Regions from separate parts of the Homo sapiens genome. Here regions 1, 3 and 4 are each linked to region 2. Evidence: promoter capture Hi-C in 16 types of primary human blood cells and fetal thymus (Javierre and others, 2016). All regions are on one chromosome and are shown on one strand. The core of a region is centred on a gene start or on the middle of the fragment in contact, and the rest is flanking DNA. Distances in the headings are between cores, read along the strand shown. Region 1 has its middle 3.4 kb from the start of TES. Region 2 holds the start of CAV1 (caveolin 1). Region 3 overlaps MET (MET proto-oncogene, receptor tyrosine kinase). Region 4 overlaps CAPZA2 (capping actin protein of muscle Z-line subunit alpha 2).

Evidence for each region. The method cuts DNA at HindIII sites, captures the fragments that hold promoters and counts their contacts. A CHiCAGO score of 5 or more calls a contact.
Region 1: a fragment that was not itself captured here is called in contact with the fragment with the promoter of CAV1 in region 2 in 5 of 17 cell types (naive CD8 T cells, total CD8 T cells, naive B cells and 2 more); the score reaches 7.8 in naive CD8 T cells.
Region 3: a fragment that was not itself captured here is called in contact with the fragment with the promoter of CAV1 in region 2 in 1 of 17 cell types (total B cells); the score reaches 5.2 in total B cells.
Region 4: a fragment that was not itself captured here is called in contact with the fragment with the promoter of CAV1 in region 2 in 1 of 17 cell types (endothelial precursors); the score reaches 5.3 in endothelial precursors.

The regions. Positions count from the first base shown.
Region 1 is chr7:116,205,491-116,208,745 of GRCh38, reverse strand. No RefSeq gene overlaps it. Among named protein-coding and RNA genes, the nearest start is that of TES, 3.4 kb to the left of the region's middle. The HindIII fragment of the contact is 637 bases long and covers 1,430-2,066 here.
Region 2 is chr7:116,523,757-116,527,052 of GRCh38, reverse strand. CAV1 (caveolin 1) reads right to left here and starts at 2,017. Exons shown (of 3, transcript NM_001753.5): 1 at 1,961-2,017; 2 at 364-528. The coding sequence starts at 1,990. RefSeq lists silencers at 316-415, 646-1,035. The HindIII fragment of the contact is 5,040 bases long and covers 1-2,900 here.
Region 3 is chr7:116,784,708-116,788,255 of GRCh38, reverse strand. The region is part of intron 19 of MET (MET proto-oncogene, receptor tyrosine kinase); the gene reads right to left. Among named protein-coding and RNA genes, the nearest start is that of CAPZA2, 76 kb to the left of the region's middle. The HindIII fragment of the contact is 2,977 bases long and covers 1-2,797 here.
Region 4 is chr7:116,870,560-116,873,942 of GRCh38, reverse strand. The region is part of intron 1 of CAPZA2 (capping actin protein of muscle Z-line subunit alpha 2); the gene reads right to left. It also overlaps the pseudogene LOC100418716. Among named protein-coding and RNA genes, the nearest start is that of CAPZA2, 9.7 kb to the right of the region's middle. The HindIII fragment of the contact is 1,003 bases long and covers 926-1,928 here.

The DNA of each region.
Region 1 (3,255 bases), core at 499-2,998, 320 kb after region 2:
AAGAGAGTTAAATTGTAAGTTTTTGTTCAGTTATTCAGGTGTTAAGCTACAGTTATTAAGGAGGTAGAACTGGCATGGTTTGATGAGTACATGTAGTTGATGACAGTGGAATGAATAGAAGATGGCACACATTTCTATCTTGATCACCTCTATGGATAGCTCAGAAAGAGAGAAAATATAGGATGATGGTCAGGGTTTTGTTCAGTTGTGCATTCTTTGGGGCTGGTGGTGGACATAAAGGATACAACTTTTAATATATTGAGTTTGAGACTGAGACATTGAAATGAGTATCCAAATATACATCTTGAATGCTGATTTAGGAGTTCACATCCTACATAAATAAATAATTAAAGGCCAAGAAGTGAGATGAGCCTCGGAGACAGTAAAATAAAAGAGAAGAATATCAAAGACACCAAGTGAGCAAGGCTGAGCAAGAGAAACACATAAAAGAGATAAGGGCTAGATTAAGGGTAAGAAAAAAATTAGGAGTCAAATCCCTAAAAGCAAGAAAGGAAATTGAAGAAGAAATTAGTTAACAATGTCAAATTGTAGAAAAGGGTCAAATGCCCTTCGGATTTAACAAAAAGGAGATCATTGGTGACTTTGGAAAGTGCATTTTTGGTGCAGTTGTGGGGAAAGATATTACTTTATAATTTTATCTCCCTTTGTTTCTACCAGAGTGCTTTAGTCAATGTTGGACTTGACTTTTCCACAAAACTTATGGACACATCAGCCAAATAAATGCCCAACTCTGCTGTTTCAATCAAGTAGAGAGGAAATCAATATACTATACTGGATAATACTAAGGAATGGTCTTAAGATCTTTATCTTTAGAGAAGTAAATGAAAATACTAGATTTTACACATGTGTGCAGGCACACACAGAGAGAGAGAGACAGACAGAGACAGAGACAGAGGAGAGAGAGAGAGAGAGACTGAAGTTCTCTGTATAGGCCAAACAAAATATTTATTCAGGTTAAATTCAGTTTCTATGCTATCAAATTACAATATCCGATGAGGGAAATGTGTTAAACTTTTATGTACCCTTCATCACTGGAGAGATGTAAAAATACATAAGACATTCCCTTTGTTCTTAAGCAGTTTACAGATTAGTATGGGAGTAGCAGGTGTGTAAGAGTAATGAAATGTTACAGGTAGAGGGAAGCACACGTGAGAGTCAGGGAGAAGGTGGTATTGGGATTTGTAAAATCTTTAGAAAAGAGTAACCTTGGCTTAGTCTTGGAAGATGAATAAGTGTCTTAGTTAAAACTCTTGATTGCAAGTTATATTAGGCCGTTCTTGCACTACTATAAAGAAATACCTGAGACTGGGTAATTTATAAAGAAAAGAGGTTTAATTAGCTCACAGTTCTACAGGCTGTACAGGAAGCATACCTTCTGCATTGGCTTCTGGGGAGGCCTCAGGAAGCTTACAATCATGGCAGAAGGCAAAGTGGGAGAAAGCACTTCACATGGTAAAAGCAGGAGCAAGAGAGACAGAATGTGTTGGTGGGGGAGGATGAGGTGTGCCACACAATTTTAAATGACCAGCTCCCCTGTGAACTCAGAGAGAATGCTCATTTATTGCCAAAGGGATGGCCCAAGCCACTCATGATCCAAACACCTCCCATTGGGCCCTACCTCCAGCATTACGGATTACAATTCAACATGAGATTTGGGTGGGGACAAATATACAAACCATATCACAAGTAATAGTAACCCTCGAGCTAGTTTACTTTTAAAAAGATGGCATTTTATTTTAAGGATACAGAGGCTTGTTGCAAAACTCAAGGGCCAGATGCATCTGCGACTAGACCAGGCACTTGCCAACATCTGGAACAAGGAATCTACTCCTTCACTGGGGTTATGTGGTCTCTCATCTTGCTGCTTGGCCTCCATCAGCTTTAGTTCTTTCTCTTTGAAGACTCTGTTTTCCTGCACACATGGGCAACCAATAAAGGCAGTCTCAGCTCGTTAATTGACATCACCCTAGTTCAAGCAAAATACCCAGTTTGGGATTTCAACCCCTCTAACAAAAAGACTTTAAATAGCCCAGCTTGGATAAGCTTAAACTTCTGATTCAATTAGCTGAAGCTGGTGCCAGTTGAGAGACACAAAGGACAACACATAGACTAAAGCCCAAACTTATAGGTAGGACAAATCTCACAGAGAGGGAGTAATAAGAGTTTTCCAAATGCCTCCAAAGATATCTATCTCTGTTTCAGATGTTACAAGGAAATTAGCAAAGGAAGAGGCTTAGTAAGTACAAGCAGAAGATTTTTCTTTCTGTCGATATTGGAGAACTTTTTCCCTTGACTTTTATTATAGGTTTGGGAGTACATCTGCAGGTTTGTTACATGATTAAATTGCATGTTGCTGGGGTTTGGTTTACAAATGATTTCATCAGCCAGGTAGTGAGCATAGTACACAACTGGTACCTTTTTGAACCTCACCCTCCTCCCACCCTCTACCCTCAAGTAGGTACCATTGTCTATTGTTCCCCTCTGTGTGTTCTGGTGTACTCAATGTTTCTGAACATTTCAAAAACTATTTAAATTACAGAAACCCCACTTGGGCAAAAAGTTGTAGATGTTTATTTTATTGCTAGGAATGGGGGTAGATAATGAATAGGACAAGTCTAAAGAATGGAAGATTAATCAGGAGATTCTAGCTATAGCCCACAAGAAATATGATGAGGGCCAAAGTAAAGCAGTAGCAATGACTGTGGAGAGTTAGAAGGATTTATCAATGATATTAAACAGGTAGAAAATATTGGACTTGACTGATTCTTGAAAAGAGAGAGGATAAGGAATCCATTAGGATTCTATTTTCTATCTCTTAGGAATCTATTTTGGGTGACCAGTTTGGTGGATATAACACACACCTTAAGGCAGGAAACAAAAGTGGAGAAGAAAATTTGATTGAGAAAGATAATGGGTTTTGTTTTGTGTGTATTGATTTGGCAAGGCCAATAGGATATGAGTCTGGTGGACAAAAGAAACATCAGGGCTGAAGATACAGATGATGCTACATACACAAGTACACATACATAAACATATATACATATACACACATAAATACACATACGGAGTAAACACTACATATGCCAGGGAAAATAATTATTGAAAACTTTTCTATACTAGATGAGGTAAACATTTCAAGATGAAAATGATACACCTGTCTCATCAATTATTAATGTGGTCCCAGGAGGCCTCTTTAGAGATGTTAATCATTTATTAACACCTGTCATAGGAACT
Region 2 (3,296 bases), core at 768-3,267:
TTCAACCTGGGAATGGATAGGAACCATCTCACCGTCCCAAGGAGTATGGGCCGTCTGTTGCTGAGGTCAATAGGCTCATTTGCTAGGATAAAAGTGTAGTTATAGGAACTTCTACAAAACTCACTTTAGCTGAATTTCAGCTGAACTAACTATTGGGGGGAGATGGGGGAAGGGAGATGTAACGTTTCTGCCGACTGCGGGAGCTCCCACACATCAAACCCACAAAACTCTGTGTGTGTGTGTGTGTGCGCGTGTAGGGGGCGGGGTGGGGTGTGCGTACACGGCAATGCTAAAGAAGGATGCACGGGCTAACTGCCAGAGGAGAGCTGTCCCAGCCCTTCCCTGTTGGTCGCCTTGGCTTACCTTGACCACGTCATCGTTGAGGTGTTTAGGGTCGCGGTTGACCAGGTCGATCTCCTTGGTGTGCGCGTCGTACACTTGCTTCTCGCTCAGCTCGTCTGCCATGGCCTTGTTGTTGGGCTTGTAGATGTTGCCCTGTTCCCGGATGGGAACGGTGTAGAGATGTCCCTGCAGAGGGCGGAGGGCGGACGGCCAGGACGGGGAGGGCGGCAACGGCGGTGGGAGGAAAAATGCAAAAAGAAAAACAAGCGATGAGAAGTCAGCCTGGCGGCGGGGGAAACCTCGAGCTCGAAATCGAACTAACCGCTCCGACAGCTACGGCTCCGTGCACAGAAACCGCCTGCGCGTAGCCAGCTTTTTAAGAGGATCTCGCAGAGGACACCACACCCCTCTGTACTCTGCAGGGCGCGCCTGCCTCCCCCGCCCGCCGCCAGGGGTCAGGGCAGGCCCCGCCGCGCGGTCCGAAGGCCCCCGCCCGCGCACGCCCCGGCTCAGCACGCAGGACCCGCAGGACCCGCAGGACCTCGGCGGCGAGGGGGCAGCCGCAGGCTTCTCCCGGACTCCCTAAGCCGAGTCGCTCTCGCCCTGAGCGCTTCACCTGTTTCGCGTTCCCGTCCCCGGTCCCTATTACCCCTGCCCCGGTAATCCCTTCCAGCTTTATCTAAGATCCAACAGCAGCCGCCCGACCCGTGGAATGTTCCCTTTATCGCTGCTTCTTGGCCGCATCCCCCTCGCACCTGCCCGCGCCCCCCACCCTGCCTCGGCCCTCTCTTGTCCCTCCACGGCTCTCCCTGCTCAATCCGCCGTGATGATCACAATCCCGAAAGTCCCCATTTTTGGCGGAGCCAGGCACCAGACCCCCTAAATGTCCTAGAACTCAGTCTCACCTGCGCAGCTCCCCCGACCCACCCTCAGGGCACTCCCAGGCTGCGGGCGGGTGGCTGAAGGGCAGCTACGTGTTGGAAGACGAGGTTTCCACACCCGGGCAGAGCTCCAGCGCGTGGAGGGCGTTGGAAGTGATGGTGGCAGTTTGGGGAGGGGAGGTCTACCTCTCTCGGAACACCCCTGCCAGACGCCAAGATGCAGAAGGAGTTCTTGAGATGGTTCAAGAACTTTGGAAAGTGCAAACACACCGCGCGCCGCCTGCGGGACCTGCCGGTCTGGGCGCCTGGCGGAGAGTCCCGGGGACTGTCCCCAGGACTCGGGTAAATAACACCTCCACCCTGCACTCCACCTCTTCGAACCCCCAGCAGGCAGGGCCGGACCGCGGGGGTCCCGCGACAAGGGAGCATCCTAGACCCATCCAGAAAACGCGTCCTGGGCCCAACAGACCCAATCTCAGGACCCCAATCCCCTTTTCCGTGTCCTCCTAGCTCAGGGGCTCCCTAGGCCCCCTCTCCATTAGGAAAACATAAAACATTCCTGGCTTCTCTTCACCTCCCCGCCCAGGCCCATTCCTCAGCGGTGCCAACGCCAGAGGAGTGCTCCGAAGTGGAGAGAGGGCTGGGGCCAGGGCAGCAGTCGGGATATTTGGAGAGGCAGATAGCAGAAGCGGACACTCCCCGCACGCCCGAGCCGGCGCCCCCCCACGGATGCCTACCTCCGAGTCTACGTATTTGCCCCCAGACATGCTGGCCCGTGGCTGGATGAAAACTGTGAGGAGGTTTCCCTGGGCTGTGCTTTAAGGGAACTGAGGAAGGAAGATCTTGTATTGTATGGGGGGAAAAAAAGGCGCTGGAGGGGGGCGGTGGCTGGGAGGGAGCCTCCTGGCCGCCCGCCAAAGGTTTGTTCTGCTCGCGGTTGGCCCGGACGTGTGCTGCGCCGGGTCTAGGCACATCCCCAAGGTTCTGGCAGCAGAGGGCGGGGAGCGCCCGCAGCGAGCAGAGAGCGAGTGAGAACGTTTCTCCCGCGCTGGGGTGCTTGGGCAGATTATTTTAAACCTGAGGCAACATTTTCCCTGCTCTGAACCACCGAGAGGCGTCCCGGGGAGAGCGAATGTTTTCGCAGTGCATCATCTCAGCAGGGGTGGAGGGAGCCGACGCGCCTGCAGAGATGCCCAGTATGGGCAACCAAGGCGGCAGAAACAATCCACAATCCTGCCCTGTCCTAAGCCGTCCCTTCCCACCTCCCCCACCCCCCGCCCATCGCCCAAGTTCCATCTCTGCCTTAAAACACATGTGTCTCCCTGTTTCACAGAGGGAGGGATGAAAGACGGCTAGGAACCTTTAGGTACATTTCACATCTAAACTTTGTGGATCCCTTATGGAAGGAATCTGTGTGGGTGCCTGTGGTGTACTTTTGGTGACACTCGTTTACATCTAGTCGGTGTGGATGGAAACTTAAGCAGGCATGCAGAATTTAACATTTCCCATCCGTTTCTGAAATGTCTCCCAAACGCTTCGAAATAAGAAATGAAGATCTTTAACTTTTCTATAATTTTATTACCGATATTTTCTGGAACAATGGAATTTTATGCCAACAGGTTATGCCATATTTGCAAAATACACAAAATGTTTATAATTGTAGAATTATTTAAAGCTTCAAGTTTATTACCAGAGAAGATTTTTTTTTAATGTGCTTGGCTGTGAGGAAAGATTTGACTTTTCTAATTGACTAGACTTAAAAAAAATGTGATAGCGATTAAAGTATTTTGTCTGTTCCTGAATCTGGGGCTTCTGTCTTTACTTTATTGTAAAGAAGCACAAAATGAATTAAATAGTAATCAGTCATTTTACTCTTGAGCTGTAATTAATCAGGAAACTCATTATCCAAAAATGAAAGGACATGTTACTTATGCTTCCATATGCAGTCAAAAGTCAAAGTATCACTTGAAATTATTTTAAAAAAAAAGCTGGAGTACACTTGAAGGGGCACAGGTTAAAATTAAAATGGAGAGGGGAATGTGGGTTGGGAGTAAGAGGGAGGAGAAAGGGAAA
Region 3 (3,548 bases), core at 60-2,559, 260 kb before region 2:
ATATCATCACAGTCCAGTTTTAGATCATCTCAACATTCCAGAAAATTCCCTCATGTCCATTTGTGGTTTATCTTCACTCCTTCTCTTGGCCCCAGGCAACCACTGATTTGTTTTCTGACTCTGTAGTTCTGCCTCTTTCTAGAAATTTCATATAAATGGAACCATTCAACATGTAATTTTTTTATCTGCCTTTTTTTCACTTAACATAATGTTTCTGAGGTTTATCATGCTGTAGTAGGCATCAGTAATTCCTTTATGTTGATGAATGGTTTAGTCCATTGTATGGACACACCACATTTTTTTTTTATCCATTCACCCGTTGATGGACATTAAGATTGCTTCTGGTTTTTGGCTATTATGAAGAAAACTACTGTGATCATTCATGTACAAATCTTCATGTGGGCATATGTTTCATTTCATGTGCTCATTAGCTAGCTATTCTTACGTCTCTTTGGTAAAATGTCTATTCAAATCTTCTGCTTACTTAAAAAAATTGAGTAATATTGCCTTTGCTATGGTTTGAATGTGTCCCCCAAAGTTCATGTGTTGGACACTTAATCCCCTCCCAATGCAACAGTGTTCAGAGGAGGGATCTTTAAGAGGTAATTAGGTCATGAGGCTCTACTCTCATGGGTGAATTAATGTCATTATCTTGGGAGTCAGTTCATTATTGTGGAAGGGGGTTTGTTAGAGAATCTGTTCACCTCTTGCTCTCTCTTGCACTCTCTCACACCCATGTGATGCCTTCCACCATGTTATGACACAGCAAGAAGACCTTCAGCACATGTGGCCCCTTGATCTTGGACTTCCTGGCCTCCAGAACTGTGGGCCAAATACATTTCTGTTCATTATAAATCCCCCAATTTGTGGTATTGTGTTATAGCAGCACAAAACGACTAAGACAGTCTTATTATTGAGTTGTAAGGGTTGGCTCTGGCTTCTTAATGGCAGACTAACCCTCAAGTCTGAATGAACAGTATGTTCTTGGAGGATGGGTTAATTCTCCCTATCTTTTGCCTTCACCTGCCACTGTCACTAACATGTCCCCAGTCTCCCTCTCTAGCACCCACTTCTTTCACCTCTTTCAGAATCTTTCAGGATCAAAATCCCAGGCATTAAGCTCTACATGGCACTATCACTTTCTCTTACCAATCTCATGCATGCTGAAGTCCTGGTCCTCCACCATGACCTATGACCTACTTACTCATTGAAAACAAACTCCCAGTCACCTCGTCTTATTCTCTAATAGTTCCCCTACCTCCTCACAGGAACTGAAACTCAGCTTTCAGTTGAAGTCACAATTTCTTTGCAACTCTTGCCAATAGGGGTCACACCTCTCCCTCTTGCTGATTCACAGAGAGGTGGATGAGATGACTTCTTGCTTCCCATGCCACACTCAGATCTCTGACCCATCATCTCTCAAAAGCTACCAACCCTTTCTCTTCAAGTGCATGTCCCCCATGAACATTATTTTCTGACTACTTTGTTTGCACATTTTCCTTTTTTAGTTGTCATCCTTAAGGACTGAAACATCAAATGTTTCTCTATCTTCAGACATCACAGTCCTCTGACTTACAACATGTGAATAGAATAAGTGTACTCTCCATTCCATTCAACACCTGTGCTCCTAAGCACACTCTAGACCTCCAAATCACTCAAGTTACTCAGCTTCCAAGACCCTTCTGGTGTACTGAGTAGCAGTGGACTCTGTTGAGCATCCAATTTCTCCTTGAAACTTTCTCTTACTCTGACTTTCATGGTGGTCTTTGCTTCTGGGTCCCTTACCTCACTGCTTTTCTCTTTCACTTTATATATGTAGTTGAATAATTGCTTTTGGACTACTGAATAATTGCTTTTGGACTCTCAAAAGCATATTCCCAGCCTTGACCCCTGCTATGGACTGAATTGTGTTCCCCGGAAATTCATATGTTGAAGCTCTAAGCCCCACTGTGACAATGTTTAATGATGGGGCCATTTAGAGGTAATTCAGTTTAGACAAGGTCATGAGGGTGGGCATTCATGCTGGGATTAGTGCCCTTCTAAGAAGAGATACTGGAGAACTGACTCTTATTCTTTTAGCCATGTGAGGACACAGCAAGAAGGTGGCCATCTATAGGCCAGGAAGAGAGCCCTCAATAGAGCCCAACCATGCTGACATCCTGATCTTGGACTTCTAGCCTTCAGAATGGTTAGAAATACATTTTTGTTGTTTAAGCCAACCAGTCTGTGGTCTATTGTATGACAGCCCAGGCTGAATAATACATTTTTTACAAGTTGCAGATTCACATTTTCAATTGCCTGATGGACTTCTCTGCCTGGACATTCTACTCCCAAGGCAAACTCAGTGTGTTTAAGGCTCAACTTGCTATTTTTGTTCTGAGTCCAGCTTTTGCTTCTGTGCTTCATATATGTGTTATTGCATGAGCATATATCTTTGCTAATCTTTGACTTTTTATCAATTCCTTGGTAAATACTTCTGATTCTACCTCTGAGATGCTCCTCCTTTCATCTCTTCCTTTCCATTCTCATTGTGTCTTATTTCAAGTTCCACTTCTCACTTCATCTTCCTGCTTCTACTCCTTTCAAGTTGTCTTGGAGAATGATTGATATGGTTTGGATTTGTGTCCCCATTCAAATCTCATGTTGAATTATAATCCCCAGTGTGGGAGCTGAGGCCTGGTGGGAGGTGACTGCATCATGGAGGTAGATTTCTCCCTTTGGTGCTGTTCTCGTGATAGAATTCTACGGAGATCTGGTTGTTTAAAAGTGTGTGGCACCTCTCCCCTTGGTGAAAGCTTGTCACCACCTTGGTCCTGCTCCTGCCATATAAGATGCTCCCCCTCCCCCCACTTGGTCCTGCTCCTGCCATGCAAGATGCCTGCTCCTGCTTTGCCTTCTGCCATGGGTAAAAAGCTCCCTGAGACCTCCCCTTAGTGCTGGGGCTTTGCCAGGTGGGGCTGTGAGAAGAGGGCCACCATCCTCTAGACCCCAGAAAGGTAGATCCACTGACAGTTTGCACCGTGTGCCTGGAAAAGCTGCAGGCACTCAATGCCAGCCGATGAAAGCAGCCATGGGGCTGAGCCCTGTAGAGCCACAGGAGCAGAGCTGCCCAAGGCCTTGGGAGCCCATCCCTTGCATCAGCGTGCCCTGGATATGAGACATGGAGTCAAAAAAATTATTTTGGAGCTTTAAGATTTAATAACTGCCTTGCTGGGTTTTGGACTTGCATAGGGCCTCGGACTTGTGTAGGGCCTGGAGCCCCTTTGCTTTGGCCAATTTCTCCCGTTTGGAATGGGAGCATTCACCCAATGCCTGTACCCCCGTTGTATCTTGTAAGCAACTAACTTGTTTTTTTATTTTACAGGCTCATAGGCAGAAGGGACTTGCCTTATCTCAGATGAGACTTTGGACTTGGACTTTTTAGCTGATGTTGGAATGAGTTAAGATTTTGGGGGACTGTTGGGAAGGCATGATTGTGTTTTGAAATGTGAGAAGGACGTGAGATTTGGGAGGAACTAGGGCGGAATGATATGGTTTGACTCTGTGTT
Region 4 (3,383 bases), core at 178-2,677, 350 kb before region 2:
CTGGATGAACATAAGCTTCACATGTATCTTTCTGCCTTGCAATCCTTGACTGTGTCACTCTTTGCATTAATGGTACAGAATGTACCTTTCTCAAGCAAAGACAAGCTCCATGGTGAAGTACCACAGGTGGAAGTGACTGGGTTCCCTCAGCCTATGTCACCTCTTCAAGATGTGTTTATTACTGGAAGTCAGAAGCAATTGGTAGTGCTACTTCAGTTTTATAATTACCATCTAGAACATGAGGGTACAACGTGAGAGTTTACTGTGGGTTGTCAATCATTACCACAATTTACAGAAATAGATGGCAAAATTAATGTTACTTCACCTGCTTATGTCCATGAATTCTCCAGATTGTTCTAGTGCCTTTGCTGAACATTTGGCAACATGTTTTCAAACACTAAGGTAAAACTTGAGTTCCAGGAGATTTTAAAACTGTCTGAAGAAAACAATTCCTTAACAGGAAATAGAGTCCTCACCAAAGCAGCTATAAAAATGGTAAACTAACAAAAATTAAAAAAAATTTTTTTAAACCTTAAGCAAGGTTTAAAGGAGATGAAAGTATAAAAAGCAGACAATGTATGTGCATGGTAGCACACAGACATACATGTACACACATACACACCACCAAAAAACAACAACAAAAAACAAAACCCCCAAACAGCCATCTAGAGCCATTAAATTTAGAAGCAAAGGACCCTGCACTCTCCAGCAGTCCAAAGGTACACTACTATGGGAAATAGCTATACTAAAAATGACTCACCGTTTAGCTTAAATTCAAATTTACTGAGGCATCAGTATTTTATCTGAGAATCCTACCTAGAGCCCCTATAATTTCCACATGGTATGGGCCGCCATGATCAAGGAAGGAGACATTAGGGTAGGAATTTTTCAGATATGAACGGCAGTCAGACTCACCTGGAAAGCTTGGAAAAAATACAGATTCCCACCCTCTATTCCAGACCCAGTGAATCTATCTCCAGAGAATGGGGACCTAGAAATCTATGTTTTAGAAAATCTCTCCACGTGATTCTGAAAGGTGACCAGATATTGCACCCATGCCCTAAGGGACTTCAGATGTAAAATTTGAAGTGTCTAGTCTTCTTGAGAAATGACTTATAGGTTTTACTTGATTCTCAAGAAAATGTAACACCAAAAAGGGTCACTGCTTTAGACACTGGTAGTAAAATTAAAGGAGCCACTATGCACTTTTCCACTTCAACTAAAAGAATTATTTGAAGTTGTCTTCCACAGCTCTCTAAAAAATGGCTATGTCTTTTGAGAATTAGAGGTAAAACCGGAGGAAAAAACCACTTTTTTGAACTTTATGACATTTAAATAGTTTATGACCAAGTGATCACTATCACATGTCTGTGTGTCAGGTGAATTTATCTTAATATGGGTAAACTTAAGAGTGGTAATTTGTTTTAATAAGTTTTCCTCTAAATTTTTTTCCTTTATAATTATCATTTTGATTGGTAATTAAAAACAGGGCCCACAGCACTTAACCTGAAACTGGGTCATCTAAAGAACTCAACATTGATTCTTCTTTAAATATGTTTTTACCATTTATTTAAAATATGAAGAAACCCATGAATCCAAAGTAGGCATTATCATCAACTAAAAGAAAGTAAGTTATGTAAACTATTCTTTATCTTACGTTTTCAATTTCCTTTTCCCTTCTGAATCATTTCCCTTATACACCCTAGAATGTTCTCTTACAAAAAAAAAGTATTCTTAAAATGAAATAGCAGGAAAAAACAAAGTAGTAATACATATTTTTCTCTTTTGTTTCACTACCAATTTTTTTCAAGAATAATTTGTACTTACTGTCTCCACTCCTCATCCTTTAGTCAACATTTATTGAGCCCCTAATACAGTGATACAGTGAGACTCAATCCTAGTTGCACATTCAGATCACCTGGGAAGCTTTAAAACAACAACAACAACAACAACAAAAAGGAATTACAGACACTCCAGGCCTCACCCACAAGAGGAGCCTGTGCGTTCATTTTGTTTATAAACTCTCCAGTTGATTCTAATGTGCAGCCAGAGTTGAAAATCACTGATTTAATACAGGCTAGGCGCTCTACTGGAATTACAAAGATGGTGAAGACATAAGGCCTGGCCCTGAAGAACACAGGAAATAAGGACAACAGGTAAATTTATTAAAACTGGTAAATGTTATAACAAAGATAAGTACAAATTGCTTAGGGAGCAGAGGTATGTCAGGATACAAAAGAAGAGAAGAAAGTCCTTGAGTCTGGTTATCCAAAGATGAGTAGTTTACAAGGCAAACAAGACTGAAATGCCGTTTCTGGAAAAGGGAAAATACACACATACTTTTTATTATAGACTCCAGTTATCTGGCTTATGTCTCTCCACTCCTTGCTCCAAACACTAGTAAAATTATTCTCTTGAAGGCCACTAATCCCTAGTCCACCACTTAAACAGCCTTAACTGCACCAGTTTCCTGTCTGTACAATGAAGATAATAACAAGGTTATTCTGACAATTAATAGAGAGAATACATGTTAAAGTCCCTGGCATAGAGTAGGTATAATTTGTTTCTCATTCCTTTCTCTTAAATCCAAAGGCTTTTTTCAATCTCATACTCCTTAATCTCTGCAACACTGAGCACCGCTCCTTCTTGAAATTCTCGTCACATTCTGTGACCTCAGCACCTACTCTGTGCTAGCTATCAGTAGGTAACACTTCGACCTCAAGGGTTTCTCCTCACCTTTAGGTCTCTCTCCACTTCTTATTCCTCAAATCAAAGTATAAAGTATACGCTTCCTGCCCTCTCCTCTTTCCCATGTCTAAGCTTTTTGTCCTAAAGGGCTTATCCCATCTCGCTTTAACCCACAAAAAGAGGATTCTCAAATCTCTATATAATCTCTGGAGCTGACCTCTTTTCCAAGCTGTTTCTCTATCTCCGTATCTGCTAGGCATTTTCACATAGACAATGACTAGCATCTCAAACTCCGTACAACCAAAACTAAATTCACCATTATTCCTCCCAGCTGTGTATCCTCTTTCCTGTGTTCTCCAGTTGTTACTAGTGGTACCAATTCCCAGTCATCCAGACTTTAATGTTCACAGTTTTCTCTGACTCACGCCTTTCCCCTATATTCATTTATCAAGTCTTCTTGATTCCAACTCTAAAATCTATTGGCGATCTTTTTTTCCTCCATTTCTTGTGGGACGAACTTAAACCAGGTCCTAAAGTCCACTTAAGCCAGGTTCTCAACTGTTCTTACCAGCTCTAATCTATCTAGACTCATGGGTCTCAACAAGGGGTGAATCTGTCCACCAGGAGACATTCTGGATTGGTAAGCCTGGGTTATGGTAGTGGCATATCATGTGGGCTAAGGATGTTGCTAAACA